5 separate regions of the Homo sapiens genome follow, and all the other regions are linked to region 1. Evidence: promoter capture Hi-C in 16 types of primary human blood cells and fetal thymus (Javierre and others, 2016). All regions are on one chromosome and are shown on one strand. The core of a region is centred on a gene start or on the middle of the fragment in contact, and the rest is flanking DNA. Distances in the headings are between cores, read along the strand shown. Region 1 holds the start of PRR16 (proline rich 16). Region 2 overlaps LOC105379144 (a long non-coding RNA gene). Region 3 has its middle 370 kb from the start of FAM170A. Region 4 overlaps LOC124901053 (a long non-coding RNA gene). Region 5 has its middle 400 kb from the start of FAM170A.

The links. The method cuts DNA at HindIII sites, captures the fragments that hold promoters and counts their contacts. A CHiCAGO score of 5 or more calls a contact.
Region 2: a fragment that was not itself captured here is called in contact with the fragment with the promoter of PRR16 in region 1 in 2 of 17 cell types (M2 macrophages and M1 macrophages); the score reaches 7.3 in M2 macrophages.
Region 3: a contact is called between a fragment that was not itself captured here and the fragment with the promoter of PRR16 in region 1, in 2 of 17 cell types (M0 macrophages and M2 macrophages). The highest score is 5.8, in M0 macrophages.
Region 4: a contact is called between a fragment that was not itself captured here and the fragment with the promoter of PRR16 in region 1, in 4 of 17 cell types (M1 macrophages, M2 macrophages, monocytes and 1 more). The highest score is 6.8, in M1 macrophages.
Region 5: a contact is called between a fragment that was not itself captured here and the fragment with the promoter of PRR16 in region 1, in 3 of 17 cell types (monocytes, M1 macrophages and M2 macrophages). The highest score is 7.9, in monocytes.

Annotation. Positions count from the first base shown.
Region 1 is chr5:120,462,101-120,466,280 of GRCh38, forward strand. It overlaps PRR16 (proline rich 16), which reads left to right and starts at 2,200. Exons shown (of 2, transcript NM_001300783.2): 1 at 2,200-2,545. The coding sequence starts at 2,387. RefSeq lists a silencer at 2,119-2,168 and an enhancer at 2,574-3,075. The HindIII fragment of the contact is 2,017 bases long and covers 1,020-3,036 here.
Region 2 is chr5:119,961,149-119,965,328 of GRCh38, forward strand. It overlaps LOC105379144 (a long non-coding RNA gene), which reads left to right. Exons shown (of 3, transcript XR_948706.2): 2 at 3,374-3,469. Among named protein-coding and RNA genes, the nearest start is that of FAM170A, 330 kb to the left of the region's middle. The HindIII fragment of the contact is 2,383 bases long and covers 996-3,378 here.
Region 3 is chr5:119,995,689-119,999,868 of GRCh38, forward strand. No RefSeq gene overlaps it. Among named protein-coding and RNA genes, the nearest start is that of FAM170A, 370 kb to the left of the region's middle. The HindIII fragment of the contact is 2,939 bases long and covers 735-3,673 here.
Region 4 is chr5:120,012,773-120,016,952 of GRCh38, forward strand. It overlaps LOC124901053 (a long non-coding RNA gene), which reads left to right. Exons shown (of 2, transcript XR_007058913.1): 2 at 1-76. Among named protein-coding and RNA genes, the nearest start is that of FAM170A, 390 kb to the left of the region's middle. The HindIII fragment of the contact is 1,255 bases long and covers 1,534-2,788 here.
Region 5 is chr5:120,029,637-120,033,816 of GRCh38, forward strand. No RefSeq gene overlaps it. Among named protein-coding and RNA genes, the nearest start is that of FAM170A, 400 kb to the left of the region's middle. The HindIII fragment of the contact is 1,410 bases long and covers 1,754-3,163 here.

The sequences.
Region 1 (4,180 bases), core at 950-3,449:
AGAACAGTTTTTTTTGTTTTGTTTTTGTGACGGAATCTCGCTCTGTCACCCAGACTGGAGTGCACTGGCACGATCTCAGCTCACTGCAAGCTCCACCTCCCGGGTTCAAGCAATTCTCTGCCTCAGCCTCCTGAGTAGCTGGGATTACAGGCTCCTGCCACCATGCCCAGCTAATTTTTGTATTTTTAATAGAGATGGGGTTTTGCCATCTTGGCCAGGGTGGTCTTGAACTCCTGACCTTGTGATCCACCCATCTCGGCCTCCCAGAGTGCTGGGATTACAGGCATGAGCCACTGTGCCTAGCCTGTTTTGTTTTTTTTTTTTTAATCTTTAGTGAATGAGATTCAGAGTAGCATGGACATCTTCTTATATTGTGGGAGGATTATTTTGTCACTGTGAGGGAAATCACAATTTCCTTTCCTCCTCTCCCATATCCTTGTCTAAAGTCACTTAACTTTGAGTTTGGCGGCTTTCTTACACACTTGCCTACTATTAAGAGTCAAAAATAATTCCAATCTAGAAGAATAGTACTTTCTCTTTTCCCCTACCATTAGCTTTTGCTAGTTTTGACAATTTTGGGGAGTCTGTAAACCTGATATAATTATTTTAATGTTATATTTTTTATAAAATAAAGAATTTGAGGAGAAAAAGGATGTTTTAAAAATCTAATTCTCCCTACCTCAGAGAACTCAAGCATATTACTTATTTCACACTTTTAATCATTTCTTCTCTTTTTCTTTTCTCCAGTTTGCATGCTGCAGACTTGTTCTTATAATCTCTTCTTAAGTCTTTCCAGCAGCATCTGCTTTTCACCTTTTCTCATTTCTTCCCCTGATTTTTCAATGCAGTTTTCAATGGTTTTCTTTTGACACCACTTTCAAATTTCAATTTTTTCTTCTGTTCTCTTTCTTCCTCTATATTCCACATATGACTTCCAAAGGTTTTGTAAAGATGAATTGTCCAGGATTAAGAGAGTGATTGATTAAGAGCCTACAGAACTGGGAAGAGGAGAGCTGCCAAGCTTTTCTTTATGTGTAGCACAGTGGAGCTACCCAGAGTGTGAGAAGCAAGAAACAGAGAGCCTTGCTAAGGCACGACGAAAAGGGGAAGCCTATTAAAAGAATGATCTGGAGGAGTGTGCAGTGAAGAAAATAAAGTAGAGCCAGCCTGCTGGGTCAGTAGCTAATAGCCCATGGGTTTACAACTAAGGAAGTTAAAATTCTAGCTAATGAGAATTGTAGACACCTACTGAGAGTGAACCGAAGGCTTCCTATTAACTTCCCTTCTTGGGTCTTTTTGACAGAACAGTCAGAAAGTTGTTTCCTATTTGTTTAGTAGCAAAAGAGTTGAAATGGAGGTTTAAAAAATGATGAAAGAGAAGTTGGAGGCAATCTCTTACTCAGCTCCTTCACGAGGTCCAAATACGATGTCTCCCCCACTCCACTCAAAATGTAAATCAGCATAGGTCACAAAAAGAGGAAGGACAGTTAAAAAAAAAAAAAAGAGTTGGGCCAAATAAGACATACAGCCAAGATGACTGAGACAATCAGAGAGGATTTGGGGTGTGGGGACTTCAAATTAATAAATCCGGTATTAGCTTTGTGGAATTAGCAGGATTAGGGTACCTCTTTCAAGAACACTGGTTGAATTTCATGGTTTCAATAGATGACCATTAGCTGTTATGTGCACCCCCCCCCCCCTTTTTTCTTGCAGAAGTTAAGAAGTCTGCTTAACTCGCAGGTCACCAAGAGATTGATTAAAGGCCTCTGGACATCATTTGGGTTTGGATAAATCTGTAGGGCCACTTTACAGACTGTCTCCAACTCCTGATCCCACTGTGGTTCTTTCTGAATTGATCCAGGTCCCTGCTAGCAAGTGAAGCAGAAAGAATCCAGGCTAGTTGTGAGATGACATACAGCAAGCAGGCTGAGATGATGGGGACATTTCAGAACCAAGAGGAGGGGGCGGGCAGGACACGGACTTGTCTCCCCCACCTTGATGCCAAGGTGGCATCTGGGAGATATCTCGAAGGGCAACGTCGAGGGGACTGCAAGCGTCAACCCTGGCGCGGCAGCACGGCGCCCCTCTCCGCGGGCGGGGAGCGAGCGCGTGTGCGCGAGAGCGCCGGGCGGCGGCGGGAGGAGGCGCAGGCGCGCTGCTCGCCCGTCTGCAGCCCCGAGCCGAGCGCCGCGTCTCGGGAGTTGATGGCAGCACCACTGTGCGGCCGCCCGGCCGAGCGCGGAGCGCAGCCACTCGCCGCTGCCCAGGGAGCGCCCAAGATGTGGGGGGACCGGGGCGGCAGCGGCCGTAGCAGCGCCAGGGACGGGGGCACGCAGCAGCCTCCGCTCGCCCGCCTGTCCTGACCTGCCTCGCTTGCCCCCAAAGAATGTCAGCCAAGTCCAAGGGGAACCCCTCCTCGTCCTGTCCAGCCGAGGGACCGCCGGCAGCCTCCAAAACCAAGGTGAAGGAACAGATCAAGATCATCGTGGAGGATTTGGAATTAGTCCTGGGCGACCTGAAGGACGTGGCCAAGGAACTTAAGGAGGTGAGAGGCGCAGGGGTGGGGAGGGAGTTCGGCACCCTTCGACCCCTCCGGGGTCCCCTTTCCGATTTTCAGCAGGGACAGCCAGATTTCCAAACTCCTGGGAAACTACAGAAAAGGCGCCTGCAGACGGACTTTCTTTGCTCCTGGAGTCCTGAGAGGAGTTGTTGTTGCACTTTTTAATTTTTTTTTTTAATCAGGAAGAAATCAACTAGTGTTTTAATCGATGGACCTGGGCTGGTGGGAGGGATGAACGCACGCGTGTCTCTGAATCTGTGTGTGTGACGACGGGGGAGAGGGTTAGCTGGGGGTGTGTCGGCAGAGGAAGTCGTGAGCAGCCCGGCTGGAGCGTGCAAGATGCTCCTCTCCTGCCCTATTGCTTCCCCAGAGTCCTTTGGCAAGTCCGCTGCCTATCTGTCAGCCTCCCCAAGTCAGGGCTGAAGAGGGGCCGGGTTCTGGGCCCTGGGCCAGATCAGGGAGGGCAGCCTGGAGGAAGCTTGGCTCAGACTACCCTCCCTGTCTCTCGAGCCTCGCTGTAGGGAAGGCGACCCGGGCTGCTGGCAGCCTTGGGGCTAAGGAGGGGGTCTGGGACTTTCTCACTTTCTCAGTTTCTGAAGCATCCCCTGCTCTCCTCCGAACGTCGTTACCAGTAACTCTGGGCCTTCCCGCCACCCTACCTCTGCTTCCTTCCTTCCACCCTGTCGCCACTTGGCATTGAACCCGAGAAGCAGGACGCGCAGGAGAGTGTATGTGTGGCCGGGGTCTTGCCATTGGCGTCCTGGCTCTCTGCAGCTGGGACTGCTTCGGTTCTTCCCCGCTTTTCCTATCCCACTTCGGTTCAGCCCTACTCCCGCCCGCCCCTAGCCCCAGGTGATCCAGATGGAAAGAAGCAGAGAAGGTGTCAGGGCTGAGGCTGCGTAACTCAGGCGGCGGCTCCGGGCGGGGGCGGGGGCCGGGCTGGGAGGGGTGGGGTCTCCCGAGCCAGGCTGGCTGCCGGCGGCGTCGCGGAGCTGGTAGCAGAGTCCCAGCGCGCCGCTCACTACTGAATGGGGTCCTGGTGCGGTTCTCGGTGAGGGAGTCCGCAGCTCCGCTGCGTGAGAGCTAAGACTAGAACTTCGAAGGTGGCGGTGGCTGCAGCGGGAAAAGGGGTGGGGCGTAGTCTAGGTCCAAAATTGTAATCCTGTTTCTGAAGCCAACGGGGAGGAGACTGAGGGTTGTTTGGATGACTGGCCTCTAGAGATTAACCTCCTGTATTCAATTTCCAAACCAAATTTCAAGAGCCCCCTCGTCTTCCTCCCCTTCCCCCGTTACCTCTATGAACTGAACTCTGCATTTGTTACCTAATGCAAGTCTGTTAAAATGGGCCATTCGTCACCAGGGTTAAGTTTGCCAGTGGTAAATGTCGTTCCTGTAGGTTACTCCACAGACAGAACATAATTAGTACTGAGGTCCTGAGAGTGGCTGTTAGTATACATAGATTCAGGGATAAAACTTGTTCGTGTTTTCAGGGTTTCTGTAGGATTATTGCTTCACAACTGGTTGACAGATGGTGGGGTTATGCATTGAAATTCAATTCTAAAAATGCTGTCCCTTTCTTTGTTATTCTTTTATATGACATCTTTGGTAGACTGTGTTTTC
Region 2 (4,180 bases), core at 937-3,436, 500 kb before region 1:
AAGTGGACTTACATGGATGAATAGATAAAGAAAATATCATTAATGGATAAATGGATAAAGAAAATGTAATGTAGTTACACAATGGAATACTATTTAGCCATAAAAAAGAATGAAATCATGTCATTTGCAGCAAAATGGATGAAACTGAAGGTCATTATGTTAAGTGAAACAAGCCAGGCACAGAAAGACAAATATTACATGTTCTCACTCATATATGGAAGCTAAAAAAGATGTTCATATGGGAGTAGGGAGTGGAATGGGGGTTGCCAGAGGCTGGGATAAAGAGAAGTTGGTTAATGGGTACAAATATATAGTTAGATAAAAGCAATAAGTTTTAATGTTCAATAGTACTGTAGGGTGACTATAGTTAAAAACAATGTATTGTTCATTTCAAAATAACAGAAGTGATGACTTGAAATGTTCTCAAACATAGAAATAATAAGTGCTTGTGGTAATGGATACCTTAACATCCTGACTTAATCATTACACATTCTATGCATGTAGTAATATATCATATATACCACATAAATATATGCAAATATTATGTATTGTTAAAAAAACTCAGAAAAATAATTATTTCCATTTTGATCAGTTATTTACAATATACAGAGTAGTAAACAGTTCTGTCAATGAAAGGCATGAATCTGATAGATAATGAGGAAGGGTGTATCCTAGGAAATGCCTAGTTTTTTACTGAGAACTCCCACAAGCCTTTTCTGTTCCATTTCTAAGTCTTTCACAATTTGTCTCTAAATACCTAATTTGAGAGGTTATTGAGAAGATTGTAACAAAATCACAAAATGCTTTTTCATTTTAACTATTATATGTACACACACCCCCCCAAACAGTAGAGTAGATTTGGTCTCTTTTAAAATTCCTCTTGTTATAAATTAATAATTTAAACACCTGAAACAAAAATTTATACCAATTCACCCAGATTACTGATATCAAGATTCAGGCTGATGTATTTAAGTGGTTTGCTGATTGAATGTAAAAGCTTTGGCTAAAGGTAAATGTTGGCATTATGAATCATTCTGTAGAGGAGAGTATAGTAAATAAGCAAAACCAAAATGAGCCATTGCTTTGTTTGCCAAGCAGTCACAAAAATGTTGAAAGGCTCATTAGATTTTTACACTCTATCTTTTGCATGAACAAACTGACAACAGATTTATCAGACTTATCGTACTTTTTAATCATCAAGAATTGTATTCCTTTTGACTATGAATTGGAGCAGTAAAAGAGAAGCAGAAATGCCTCAAAATGAAGGCTTACCCTTCACTGATCAAGAACCCAGAAGATAACAGGTGTGGCACAGCTATCACACTAAGTCTGTCCCCTGCCAAAAAAAGGACTTGGAATAGATGGAGAACTGAGAATGGAGTCCAGTGAGCAAAATAAAGGGTCTGGCCTAAGTGTAACTATGAGGAATACAGGGTTCGATTTAATTATTCAATTATAATTTAGGTTGGATAGACTCTGTTTAACCTTCCAACCCCCCGATTGATTCTCTGCTCTTCTCTGCCCTTGGAGAGCCTGTCCATGGAGGATGATTCCCATGGACTCCAGCACCTTGGCTGTACAGTTCTTTGCCCTCTAGCTTTCTGTTGGCTTTAGTCAGTTGAAAATAGAAATATTTCTCCCCTTCCCTTTGAGTACTGTAGTTCTGCAACCCTTTATGACCACCAGGTTGGCTAGAATTGTCTTCCCCTTGCTTACCTCTACATATCCTGTTGTAATGATGGCTTCTGATTGTTGACAGTCCTGGGTCTTATTGGTCCCTACACCTCTGAAAATAGCCCCAACATTAAATTCTCTTCATATCCTTAGCTGAGTTTTTTCTGTTTGTTCTCAGGACCCGGATGAATCTCGAAAGAATAACAACAAACTGTTGAGAAATAACTACTCTTGACAGTTATATAGCTTATATATTAATCATTTAATCTTTAAATATTGCCATTATTATTTAACAGAAAAGGAAATTGAGGCACAGAGAACTTCGATGACTCACTTGAAGCAAATCTGACTAAAAAAAGCCATGTTGTTACTGAGCATGCTGTATTTTGTAAAAAGTTTCAGACAACCTTTTTAAAGCACAGTTTCTTTTTTTTGCATGATGTGTTTTTCTCTTCTAAACAGGCCTGCACTCCTATTTTAAATTATTTTATATTTTTTGAATGGGGGTCAAGTGTGGGCTGTCCTACCTGTCTTTAATTGCATAAATCATCTCATTTTGTTCTACTTATAATGCTTCAAGTTACAGAACTCATAACATTATCACATTTATTACTAGCTAAGAAAGCATTAATCATAGATGGTCATAAAAGCTAGAGAAATTAACCATAAAGTTTGCTGAAAATTGCATTAATCATATGGAATCTAGAAAATGTCAGATTACAAAAATGCTGCTTTCTTGTTAATACAAGTAGAAAAAATTGTGGGAGAGAAAAAGAGATCAAACAAAATTAATGTTATTCTTTAAAACTAGTCTACCCAATTACATTGCACAGATATATGGACTAGGCTCTGTTGTAGGCAATTTATATATGCTATCTTTTTTTTTTTTTCATTTTTGATTTTTTTTTTTTTTTTTTACTTTTCTTTTTTTTTTTATTATACTTTAAGTTTTTAGGGTACATGTGCACATTGTGCAGGTTAGTTACATATGTATACATGTGCCATGCTGGTGCGCTGCACCCACTAACTCGTCATCTAGCATTAGGTATATCTCCCAATGCTATCCCTCCCCCCTCCCCCCACCCCACCACAGTCCCCAGAGTGTGATATTCCCCTTCCTGTGTCCATGTGATCTCATTGTTCAATTCCCACCTATGAGCTATCTTTTTTAACCTTCCCAATGACCCTGCAAGTTATACACAACCATCCATTTCTCATATATGGAAACCGAGATCTCCTAACATTTTCAAGATCACATAGCTATTAAGAAGCAGAGCTGGAATTTTGACAATGTCTGATACTGAAATCCTATTGCGCCTCATTTAAGAAAAATAAATTATCACAAAACTTTGATTTGTAGGTTGGTTAGGTTACATTTCAATTCTTAGTGCTAATATTTGACTTCACTTGAACTATTTGTCCCTTAGGCATAGGCCAGTCCTAGTCAACATCCTTTTGTGGCCTTTGGAGTTGAGGACTCTGCTTCAGAGAAGGCTTATAAAAACTAGCAGTATTGTGTATCAGTAGGAGGTATGCAGTTTTACAGGCCTAAATTTATGAACTATTTGTAGGTCCTTTCAACATTAATATAAAGAGACCTGTGCTTATGACTAAAAATATAAAACACAATGGCTTTAAATGCAGACCTATATTTGTTATGTAGAACCTCATATGTTCTTTCATTTTGATTGTTTTGAAGTATAAAGCTTGCTGGTGGCAATTTACCCCAGTGTGACTATCGGGAGCAGTGAAATCTGCTGGAGAGAAGCCACATGTACATTTTTCTCAGTAAAATGTAAGTGAATTATAGTGCATTTCATTAGATTTTCTTTTATATTTTCATTTCATAATTAAAAACATACCCTTGTATGTACTATAAAGATTCCGTGCTTCATATTTTGAAAAGAATTTTCTAAAGCTAACCCCACTTTCATGACCACTAACAAATGGCCAAAGAAGTGCCTTTAGGGAGAAAATTTGCTAGAGCAGAGGATAATTCGTGGTCTTTATTTTGAAGTAATGTATGATAAGACTGAAAGGTTCTAGATTATGTGGTGTTTCTCTTCTTAACTTTCTGGCTGCTCCTTATTTATGTTCTTATTTTGATTTCATCATGTTCTGTTGACTTCACATCTGGATGATTTCTAAAATTCTGTTCTTGGCTTTTTGCTCTTCTTTTTCCACTTCTTTCTTCATGTTTTTATCATGTCACCAAGTATACATCAAAACTGAGTTCTAGGTCTCATTTTTAAATTCCTGCTACAAGTAGAGACATCTCTTCCATAAGTACATCCAAAATGCCACACTACCTTCCCCCTCTCCAGCTGTCCTTCTATTCTGACTGTTTTGCCACTCAAACATCCTGTTTTACCTCAGGCACTCAGACCTGAGAACTTGGAATCCAGCTTAATCCTTGCCTTTAATTCTCTCTCCCATATGGTTATTCACAGAGTCCTATAAGTTATTCATTACTCTAGATTGGTTTCTGCCTTTCCCTCTTCTCTGC
Region 3 (4,180 bases), core at 954-3,453, 470 kb before region 1:
TTCCTTTTGTATTGAGATGGAGTCTTGCTCTGTCGCCCAGGTTGGAGTGCAGTGGCGTGGTCTCAGCTCACTGCAACCTCTGCCTACCAGGTTCAAGCAATTCTCCTGCCTCAGACTCCCGAATAGCTAGGACTATAGGAGCATGCCACAACGCCTGGCTAACTTTTGTATTTTTAGTAAAGTCAGGTTCATATTGGTCAGGCTGGTCTGGAACCCCTGACCTCAGGTGATCCACCTGCCTCGGCCTCCCACAGTGGCGTGAGCCACTACGTTCAGCCGTGCCTTTCTACTGTCTCAGCTTTTCTGACATTTCTGGTTTTCTTAGTGTAGATAATTTCTTTTTCCGGGCTTCCAAAAGCCATGCTAGCAGTGTGTTAGCACCCATCTTCCAGGGTTCTTGCCAAATTATTAATTCCTGTGTCACTGGACAGTGCCCCCTTATTGATAAAAGCTCCCTTACCCAAGTTTATGTGCTATACTCCTGATCTAGTGCCCTAGGGATCTTGTCCTGCACACGCTCCTCTGGTTCTTGCTGAATCTTGGTCCCTGGGCCCTGCAGCTCCTCCTGTGTTTCTCTTCTCTTAGCAAGCCCAGTGCATCCTTGGCTGGGTTATGCTGTAATTTGACCCTATTTATTAGTCTTGTGGCCAGAAATGGAGGTGGGGTAGAATCTGAGAAGGGCATGTGTTCTTTTTCAAGGCCTTGCAGCATCTTCAAGTAAGGGCAGAATACCAAGCTTTATGGGAGGAGAGTGAACCACTTGTGCAGAGCTACAGCGTTGAGTAGGATCTGAGGGTTCAAGACTCTTGAGTATCTCAACCCACATGTCCCCATTCTGAGTCTTGGGGTCTCACTTTGGTGGCATAACAGCTGGGGTAGAGAATTCAACTTCTTTTCTCTGGACCTCTGGTTTTCTTATACATTTAGAGTGGAGTCTGATCTTAAGCTACTTCTGCTATCTGGCTGTAGTAGATGAGAATCTCTTTATATGCCTCCAAGGAGGCCCTTGGTCTTTTATACTTTGCCTTAAATTTGAGATTAATACCCCTCAGTGCCATTAAATTCCTGCAATGCATCAGTGGTAGCCAGCAACAGCTATCTGATTCTATAGTTCTTATAACTACTTTTTCCCCTAAGCCTTTCAAATATCTAAGATACTGAACCTCCTAGTGTTTTCTGACACACTGAAGTCTTCTCTCAATTTACCACAGGTAAAAGTTTTATTAATTTCACCACTATCGCATGCCAGGAATGATCAGTCTTACAGTTATCACCAGCAAAGGGATGCTTATTATCAGCTCTCCAAAATTCCATTCTATAATTTGCTGCCTGGGACCATATGTAGTACCAGCTATCTGAAGTTGGATTCCCCGGGAAATTACCTGAGTTGGAGATGGGAGGATATTGGGCAACACTTTTGGATGCAACAGTTAGAATGGAGGCAGGGAAGCAGAATTGGGCTGAGGGAGGAGTTGACCTCTATTACAGTTGCAGCAAACTTCAGTGGAATCCTTAGGATACTTTGCAACTAGGATGGTCTTTCAGCATTGTTCAAAATTGAGGCAAGAGGGCCCAGCCTCTGTATCTCTAAAGTGATCAGCAGATGGAGGCTGTTTCTTGGAAATAAGTTGCCAGTCAGATTTCTGCAGGTAATTCATTGAGAGGGACTCAGCTGTGAGCCATTCAGAACACCAGCTGTGAGAATAAAGACTTCGGTCTTATCTGATCAGGGCAATACAGGAACCCCTATAAAATGATACATACTAATGCAGTTTATGGTCAATTGTACCCCCTATTAGTTTCATTTCCCATAAAGAACAAATCAAATGTGGAATTACTGAGTAATATGCCTTGAAAGAAACTTAACATCACATCAAGTTCAATACTCTTGGTTTTTAGGTAAAAACCCAGAGGTGCCATTAAGTTCTTTGCTCAGGGGCACAGTGTATGCTGATGTTGGGTCTGGAAGTCAGGTTTTCTGCCTGCAGCCTGGTGCTCTTTCACTTTTAGATTCTTTTTTTTATTATTATTATACTTTAAGTTTTAGGGTACATGTGCACATTGTGCAGGTTAGTTACATATGTATACATGTGCCATGCTGGTGGGCTGCACCCACTAACTCGTCATCTAGCATTAGGTATATCTCCCGATGCTATCCCTCCCCCCTCCCCCGCCCACAACAGTCCCCAGAGTGTGATATTCCCCTTCCTGTGTCCATGTGATCTCATTGTTCAATTCCCACCTATGAGTGAGAATATGCGGTGTTTGGTTTTTTGTTCTTGCGATAGTTTACTGAGAATGATGATTTCCAATTTCATCCATGTCCCTACAAAGGACATGAACTCATCATTTTTTATGGCTGCATAGTATTCCATGGTGTATATGTGCCACATTTTCTTAATCCAGTCTCTCATTGTTGGACACAACAGGTGCTGGAGAGGATGTGGAGAAATAGGAACACTTTTACGCTGTTGGTGGGACTGTAAACTAGTTCAACCATTGTGGAAGTCAGTGTGGCGATTCCTCAGGGATCTAGAACTGGAAATACCATTTGACCCAGCCATCCCATTACTGGGTATATACCCAAAGGACTATAAATCATGCTGCTATAAAGACACTTTTGGATTCTTTTAAGTGCTAGAGAACTATAATATAAACTGCTTTACACGTTTGAAACTATTAAAATGTAGTCCCCACTGTAACATGCTATGGTGTCAACCTCTTCTCTATAGTTTACCCCCAAGGACTATTTATTCTTTCTCCCTCATTTTCTAGAGTCATTTTACTTTTTGTAGGACCAAGATATTAAATATTAAATAGATTGAGGTTTTAAGCTCCAGCAGGAGATTGATGTTTATATATATTGTACTTTTTTGCTGAAAATTTTTGGCGCAAAGTTGCTTTTTTATTGCCTGAATTTAAAAACAAAAAGTAACTAGATAAAAGTGAAGGATCAACAGCAAATTGCACAGGTTCTCTTCCTTTGACGGTGATTCTTTCTGGGACTGTCACAAGGTTGGACATTAGGCAAATTCCAGTTAAAGCATGCTCCTCCCAGAGAGTACACTTGTTTCACCTAAGAGGCTGTTTTAAATCTACCTGCTATCAACAGAGGGGATTTTTTTCATGAGCTGGGAAAGGCTTCAGATCCTTGACCTCACTGCCTGTTATTTCTCTTATTAGTTTAGTCTTTCCTGAAAGAAAGAACTCCCTCTGAAATGCAATTTCTGGTTTTTGGCTGAAATGGTTCCAATTTAACAGTTTTCAATTTGACAGTTCAGTTCAGTAATCCTTTACTAAGCATTTATAATGTATGAGGTATTGGACTACATCTAGCCAAAGATTTAAAGAAATAATTACACTATCAAGTAATGTGTGTTACAAAGGTGTGCACAGGAGCTGTAGGTTCACAGAGGAAGTTCAGGAATAACTTTTCTGTAACTGAGGCATTAGACAAAAAGCCGTACTATTGCCCTCAGAAGGCTGCAGTTAACACATGCATGGAGTGGTCATCTAGTTCCCCTAATTAGCATACTAAGCAGGAATGATTTACAAGGCTAGCTAGCAAATACTTTGGACCATGAAGTAGAGGAATAGAGAAGGTGAATTTCTGTGCAATGCTGTGGGAATCAGGGAGCAGAGGGTTGAGTAAAGCAGGTACATGGCAGAGATAAGCTTTTGTTGGTGAGGAGAAACAAATTGAATAAATAAATACGACCATCTGCTTTAGATGGCAATCCATCTGAGCTGCGGGAATAGTCTAAAAGTGAGGAGAGAGTCCTGGAATGAAGGATAAACTTGCCCATGTTGCTTTTTTTTTATCTGAGGCAAGCCCTGCTTAGTTTAATTTGACAATTTCCTGGCACGTATGTTATGTAACATTACCTAAATCACCTTTGGAGTTTGGAGAAAATGTTAATGTCTTGTTAAAATTATAATTATTGTGTGTTTAGCATGCCTTTCTATAGAGACTGCTTTTAATTAGGATGGTGTTCCAGTTTGTCAAACAGACATTTAAAATATCCTGCTATTACAATATTTACATTTCTGTTTGAAATGGTATCAAATGTCAACTTCATTTCCCAGGAAATCAGAAAATTTAAAATTTTTATTTTAAAATGGAATAGTATTTTAGAACACGTTATCCATCGTAAACTGTAGATGGAGTTCTGTTTGCTTT
Region 4 (4,180 bases), core at 911-3,410, 450 kb before region 1:
CCCCATTCCTTTGGAGTATTTGCTACCTGAATGGCTATTCTCAGATTTGCACTTGAATAAATTCTTCTAAGCTGGATTCTGATCCTTTTAATTATTTCAGGTTGACAGATGCATAGGGTGAGGGACAGGAAGTGGCATAGAGCTTCCATGCTCTTCCCAGGGGTGCTACTCTTCAGGAAACTTCATGTGTTTGGCTATCCAGAAGCTCTCCCAACCCTGTCTTCTTTGGGTTTTTATGAAGGATTTATCACAAAGGCATGACTGATCAAACCACTGACCATTGGTGATCAATTTAACCCTCAGTCTCTCGCTTCAACCTAGATTTTGTGGGGTGGGGCTAAAAGTTCCAACCCACTAATTATACCTTGGATTTTTTCAGGGACAAGCCTCTATCCTGAAGCTACCTAGAGGCTGCCGGCCACCATTTACACACATTAACATACATAAAAATATCACTGGAGATTCTAAGAATTTTAGGAATTGTATGTCAGAAAAATGGGGTCAAAGACCAAATATGTATTCTACAATATCACAGAATGCCTCTATCAATGAGAGACAAATAAACTAAGATTGCCAGAATTATGCAATGAAGCCTCCTGAAGAACATGCACCTTGCCTGTGTTTGCATCAATGTCCTGAGTGTACAGACCAATGCCTGGCACAGAGCTGGCTGCCCATTATTTTTTCTTGAATGTGAATGAGGATAAGAGGACCTCTTGAGCAAAATTGGTACACAGGAGATGATAAATCTATGCAGCCCTTCATGATGATATGAAGAGTTGGGGAAAGAGCCCTGGTCACAAATTAAGTCTTCTTTTGGCTCTGAAGGATTAAGAAGGTTTATAAAAAAGTTACTCTTACCCTTGAGCTCTGAATTCACATTTGACAAAGAAACATGAGTCAACAGCACTGATATTCAGAATTGTATGCGTTGGTACTGAAACTGTGGCCTTGATAAAAGAAGTTATCTAACTTGAATTAAATGAGAACCAAATATGAGTTAGCATTGAACTTTTAAAAATAATTCATCAATTCAAATCTGAGCAAAACACTTTCTAATGGTATTCTATGATTAAGCAATCCTTTACACAGTCGCCTTAGAGAAGAATTAAAAAGCTTCGGGATATCAGTTTCGATATCAATTTTGATAGAAGCAGACGCTAACTGACAGCATTCTTATAGAACTTTTTCCATATGGTCTCCAGTATGTTTTGTTCCTGCAATTTTTAGAGTCTGGAGTACTTTGGGAAGCTTAGGTGTCATCACCACCCAAGCAAAACGAAATTCTTACAAAATTCACAAAAGAATATATATATATATATAATATATATAATATAAAGAATATATATAATATAAAGAATATATATATAATATAAAGAAAATATATATATTTTGCTAGAGCAATAAATTTACTTTAAAAAAGATGTTAAGGTGTTGAGATAAAAGTCTTGCTGGGGTATTCAGAAGTTTAGTATGTACATACAGGTCTTAGCTTCCTCCAATATAAAATTATCTAATTCTAAATTTTTATTAAGCTTCTCTTTTGACATTGTACACTCTAGGAATAAATACATAAAAACACAAAAATACGTACTTAGGGTTTAGTTGAGAAGATGATGGTAATATGCATTAAGAAATTAGAATATTGTTCTATATATAAGGATTAACAGTTTGTGGGAGAAATTTTAAGTGAGATAGAAATGCTAAGGCATGAAAGATTAGTGAGGGCAAGCGTTTTCACTGAAGTCTTGGAGGAGGTGAATCTTCATCATAATTTTGGTAGACCAAGATAGAAGGGTTGACTATTTTATCAAGGGGGCTGAGTGAAATATCACAGATGGAGATAGTTTACATTGATGTAAATGGCCTGAACGCAGTGGAGGAGAAGAATCTGGGAGTAGGAACAAATATTTAGGTGAGTAAAATAAAACCGTTGATAGAATAACATTCCACAAATAGCAATGACATGCATACCAGCCTCCCCAGTGCTGGTGAGTCAATGGTGGACAAGATAGATGTGATCCCTTTCCTCATGCAGCTTATATTCTAGTTGGGTTCAGCAAACAAAACAAAACAAAAACCCAGTAAGCAAAGAACCAACGGAAGCAAGTTTGTGGTAAGTCATTGTAACAATATCAACAACAACTAGATGCTGCAGCAGTCAGCATTGGAGGTGAAGGACATTTTAGGTAGGGTGGGGAAAGCACCTCCAAGGAGTTGACTTTGAACCAAGACCTAAAGAAAGAAAAAGAGCCAGATAAGGAAAGCAGTGGGTAGGGACAAGGTATCAAAGAATTTGATGGGTTCTACAAACTAACAGAAGTTGAGAGCCTGGAGTAAAGTAAGAAGGGGACACATGGTTCAAGGTGAACTAAAAAGGCATTCAGGAACTAGATCATGTAGGATATTGAGAAGCAGAGGAGAGAATTTAAAATTTGTTTTAAGTGAAATGAATGGGAATTTTTGGAGACCAAATATGACCACACATAATTTATGTTTTTAAAAGTTTCCTTTGTTTTTATGTGTAGGAAATTAGGAGATAATGTTTTTCATAACCACCACCCCCACCATCATCATCATCAAGCTACCTACCATACCATACATGACAGCACTTACCATGTATCACATAATATTCTATGTACTCAGAAAGTGCTGACCCATTAATCCTTATAACAGTCCCATGAAGTAGGTACCATTATTGTCCTCTCAATTTAGAGAGAAAAATAGAAGGGCACTAGGAGGTTAATTATTTTGTCCAGATTTACACAATTAATAAATGAAAAGTCTAAGCTTTGAACTGAGGCAGTTTGTGCTCCTAATCACTGTGGTGTTCTATAAGCAAAAACCAGGAAATAATATAGGCTTGCTGTAGTCTATGAGAAATACATTAGTTTCTTGAACTTGGCAGTTGAACGGACAGGACTTGGTGATAGATTAGACGTTAAATTTCTAGGCAGGGGTGGCAATAATAAGACAGAAGTCCAGAATGATGCCTAAATTTCACAAGCTGGATTACAGGAAACCCTAAAAGTGAGACAGAGGTTTGTGTTGATGAATAGGAATATGGTGAAACATAATAATTTTGAGAAGTGTAGTGACAGAATACGCTTGTTTAAGAAGGATGCATTTGACATGGGGTATAATGAATCAGAATTTTAAAGGAGTGAAGGATATGCCATCTCAATGCATGATAATTGGTAAATTGATTATTTTGAGTTGAAAACCTTGGAAAAATTGTAGTTACAGAAACAAGTAGATGACCTATCTTTTCTTCCACACAGCAAGCCATAAAGATTCCTCTGGGAGGTGTACCCTCACAGAACCAGGGCAAGAAAATAGCCCTTATCATAAGAGACTGGGAACTGGGGGGCTACAATGGACCTGGATAAATATACTTTCCAAAGTACCCCTTATCTTCCAGGAGTTTTATACCCTTCTGTGTATCTCCTTGTGACTACCCTAGAAATTTACCGCTTCTAGTTAGATACCATTTATCCTGTCATTTCTTCTCAAATTTATCATTCTTTGTCTAAGAAGTATAAAAGCATCTTGCTTTGGCTACTCCAGACTTCACTCTCTTGTGAAGATGCCCATGTACATGTAAAACTAATAAACTTTGTATGTTTTTCTCTTATTAATCTGCCTGGTGTTAATTTGGTTTCTAGATTCAGACAAAGAGCCTAGATAAGAGCTAAAGGAGAGATTGGAGGTGATCTCTCTCTCACTCCCCTACCATTACAAAATCTGAGAGTCAAGACGTTTTGGAAGGAGACTGCTGCAAATAACTCTTCTGTTAGAAGTTGGGGGGCTTGCATCATGTAATTTATATTACATATACAATTTCCACAAATATCCCTTAAACATCAAGCCAACAAAGTAAAATATCCAGGGCCTCCATCTTAAGAGGGGGCCAGGTTTAGGATAATTTTTCTAACAGTCTCTTGAGATTTATTCCTGTTTGCATTTTGAGCAAAATGATTTCAAAACATGACATTAAAAAGCACCAAATAGCAACAAAAATTAAAATGTTTGCTTTCCTTTATTTAACACATATTGAGTGTTAATTTTCTGTGTTCTACAAAGTACAGATAATTATGCTTTGTCACTGCCCTGCAGGAGTTTACTCTCTGCAGCAGATAACATTAACATGCCATTTCAATTTCACACAGGACTAGGTCAC
Region 5 (4,180 bases), core at 1,209-3,708, 430 kb before region 1:
TCAATATAATACCAGCAGCCAGAATTTAACCTCACCTTAAAAGGATTATACATCATGAGTAGTTAGGATTGATCTCTGGTAAGACTAAATCTAGGATATGATCAAGTAGAGCTGGAGCTGAGGCACAGGGCTGCTTCAGCATCTGTAGTGAGGTAAAGGTCCCCAGGCTTATTACTGGGGACATGAAGAGGTGTGTTTCCCACCAGTTTCCTGGGTTGGCAGGACTGACTCTGGACTATGGTAGTGAGGACCTGCTTCAGAATCCTGGATTGTGTCTGAGGTTGGAGGGCCTGTTATTAGGGGACATGAATTGCAATGGTGGAAGGAGCTCATTTAGAAACTACAGCCAAGTAGGGTTGAAGCTGAGTCCAGAGGGAGGTGGGACTACTTTTGCTCTGCAGCCAGAACTGTGCTCAGCAAGCCTGCCACTCGTGTATGGGTCTGCCTTCTCCATATGGCTGTCCTCAGTACTGGGCTTCAGGAGGGTTTCACAATCTACCTGGATTCAAAAGCTCCCACACAGGCACTTTTGCCTCTGATGGCTGTAGTTTGTCATTCGTGTGGGGAGAACATGAGCTGGGAATCTTCCATTATCTTGCTAAAGTCACTCTGAGAATATATTCTTTAATCCTTAACACATTAGCACCACTGACCAGTTTTGGGCACAGTCTTTGTCATGGGTGTGAATAATCCAGCTTTGTTCCTTGGTTAAGTCTCAACTCCTTTACTCTCATTTACCATCATTCTATTGCTTACTCATTCTCAAAATTTTTATATGATTTGTATTTGTGTCTAAACAGAATGGTCAGTGCTTCAGCAGAGTCCTAACATGCTTGCAGTCCCACATAGAGCAGAAAGAATGGTTTGGCACACCTTTTCCAAGAGGTTGCAACCTGGTTATTAGAAGATCATGGCTCCCTTACTAGGATTTATTCTCGGGAGGTACTCATTATGCTTGCAAATTATGTAACCCCCCCTAGATTACTAGTGCCATTTGCTGTCATTTTCTGTATTTACATTACAAAATTATGCTCCAGAGGCTGTTTATTTACTTGGAGGACCATGGTCTGCAATTTAGGTAAATTGCCACCCTAAAATTTGGGTAAGTTGGTGGTGTTCAGGCTATGACTACTGGTTTTAAACAGCTGTACTTATTACCAGGTAGGAAGGAGACCACAGCTGTGATGGGAACATGTTGACTCTGTCTCAGGATGGAGTCTATCCAGTGTCCCAAATTACTTGGTAGGTGGGTTCCAGAGGTGTGGAATGTCTGCAGTTAATGTGTTTTCCAACACAGGTATATGTTTTCTCTTTGAAACACGAGCTCTATTTAAATAGCCAAATATAAAAATAGCTAGCATTTAAAAGATACATTTTAAGGGATACTATATGTCCTAGAGTAAACTTTTCAACTGTTTTAAATCACTGCTTAATGTAATCATGACTTTCTCATGGTTTAAGTAAATTCATTTATCTTGAAGTTTTCTTGACACTTTGTTAGAGTTTCTTGGATATTACAAAGATGAAGTATCTAGCATATTCTTTTCTTCTTTGATTTCTCTTTGGAGTTGCCCATAGCGTTTGGATATTAAGCAACTTTGCTTCTGTTGTTTTTTCTTTTATGCTGATGAAGAGAAAATAATATGTGAATCTCATAGTTCACAAAGGCTTTCTCCTGCATCAGAAAATAATAAGTAACTTGCATTTTTCTGGCCTAACTCTTCTGTGACCAAGATCATGCTGAGTTTACATAAGCTTCCTCAATATGCCTGTGAAAAGTCTTGTAGTATATAACAAACAAATAAACCCTGTACTGCCCCCTTTCTACATATTTTGCTCACTTATTTATTGTTTCAGGTGGGAGGATAAATACAGTTTCTGTTACTTCATCTTGTCCATACCTGGAAGTTCACGTTCTCTTTTTATTTAATCTAAATCAGGCTTTTGTCTCTACCAGTCCACTGTAACTATTTCAAAGATTCAATGAGCTTCACTTTGCCAAATCCAGTGATTAGCTCTCAGTCCTCATTTAATTTGATCCATGAGCAAACCTGACCCATGACAAGTTTTTGTCTAGCTTGTCTAACTTGACCCATGACAAGTTTGATTATTCTCTCTGCTTTAAAAATGTTCTCTGCTTGGTTTTTAGGATATCATATTTTCCTGTTTTTCTCCATAGCCCAGTGGCCACTTCTTTTTAAACTTCTTTACTGGTTCCACTTCATCTTCTTGACCTCTAATGTTGAATTGCCTCTGAGCTTTGTCCTCACTTCTTTTCTCATTTCTCTTCTTGCTCTGTAGGTCTATTGTGTTAGGCCCAATGCCCCTTCGTATAGTCAATATTTTGTGACTCTCTCTTTAACATTCTGAAATTAAGGTCATGGATAATTTGATCTATCTATATAGGTACTTTCAAAAGAAGCTCTGATTCTTAAATGAAGTTGAGAAAAAACCAAAATATATAATAAAATTATATGATTCAATTGTAAATTCTCAAGGACAATTATATTAGAGGACATAATAAAATATTCAGATGCTTGTACCCATTCTAATAAATGCAAGCTAATAAAGTCTGTTGTGCTGTTAGCTCAAAACCATGTGTTACCTGCTATTGGTGACATGGTTTTCCAAAATTGGGATCAATGGTAATTTGCTGAATAAAATAAAATTTAATCTTCTGTTGATATTCATAGTAGTTGCATTTATGGAAGAAAATAAATATGCAGTAAACCTGTACAAAAATTTTTCGTGTATATAAGTGTATTAGTCTGTTCTCACACTGCTCATAAAGACATATCTGAGACTGGGTAATTTATAAAAAAAGAGGTTTAATTGACTCATAGTTCCATATGGCTGGGGAGGCCTCACCATCATGGTGGAAGGCAAAAGAGGAGCAAAGTCACATCTTACATGGCAGCAGGCCAGAGAGCATGTGCAGGGGATCTCCGCTTTATAAAACCATCAGGTCTTGTGAGACTTATTTACTATCATGAGAACAGCACAGGAATCACCCACCCCACGATTCAATTACCTCACACTGGGTCCTTCTCATGACGTGGGAATTATGGGAGCTACCATTCAAGATGAGATTTGGATGGGAACACAGCCAAACTATATCAATATCTAATTATGATTTGGATCTAGGAGCAAATAATTACAAACAAGCTTTCTGCTTATATGGCATTTCAAAGTCGAGTAATCCTTGTCATCCACTAAATTTCAGGAGCACTCTTTAAATAGTTTAAGATCCTAAAACTTCTCCACAAATTTCCAACATCCACTAAGGATGCAAATACTCCAATTATAAAACATAGCCCCCTATATGCTGATGACTTCAAAATGTGTATTTCCAGCTCTCAACTGTTTGTTGAATTCCAGATTAGAATATCCACCTGATCACTGAAAATCTCCAATTGATCTTTAATTGACATCTCAAGATTAATAAATTGGAAATCGATCTTTTGATTTCATTCCCTAAATATGCTTTTCCTATAGATTTCCCCAACTCTGAAACAGCATCACCATATATCCAGTTGCTCAAGGCAAAAACCATGGAATCATCTTTAATTCATCTCTTTCTCTCACATCTCACCTCATCAACAGCCTATTTTTTTCCACACTCAAAATATGAATTGGCTCTACCTCAGAGCCATTATGTTTTGTGTGCACTATTGCATTTTTCTCCTACTTGCACTCTGTAATTCCATTATTGCCCTAATGAAGCCTATTTTTTTCATTGTACAGCCAGAGTGATGTTTTTTTAAATGTATAGCATTTTGTTTCTTCCTTTCAGCTCTTCATTTCCTGCTTCCAAATACACTTGGAATAAAATTTCCTACTAGGCCCTATCTGATCTCTCTTTTTTGTCCATTTCTATGAATGCCCTTTACACCACTTTCCCCATTCTTCACTGAGCTTCCACCATATTGGATTCATTGATGTTGTACAAACATGCCAAGTCCACTCCCTTCTTAGGGTCCTTGCCTTTTCTGTTCACACTCACTGAAATAGCATTCTAAGGAAAAGTCACATGGCCTTCTCTAATGGTCACATCCAGAGAGCCTCTCCTAACCATCCCATCTAAAATAATACTTCATTATTCTATATTCCTTTATCCTACTTTTAATTTTTTATAGTTTTCCTATGAGATTACTCATTTATTGATTTGCTTACTTTGTTT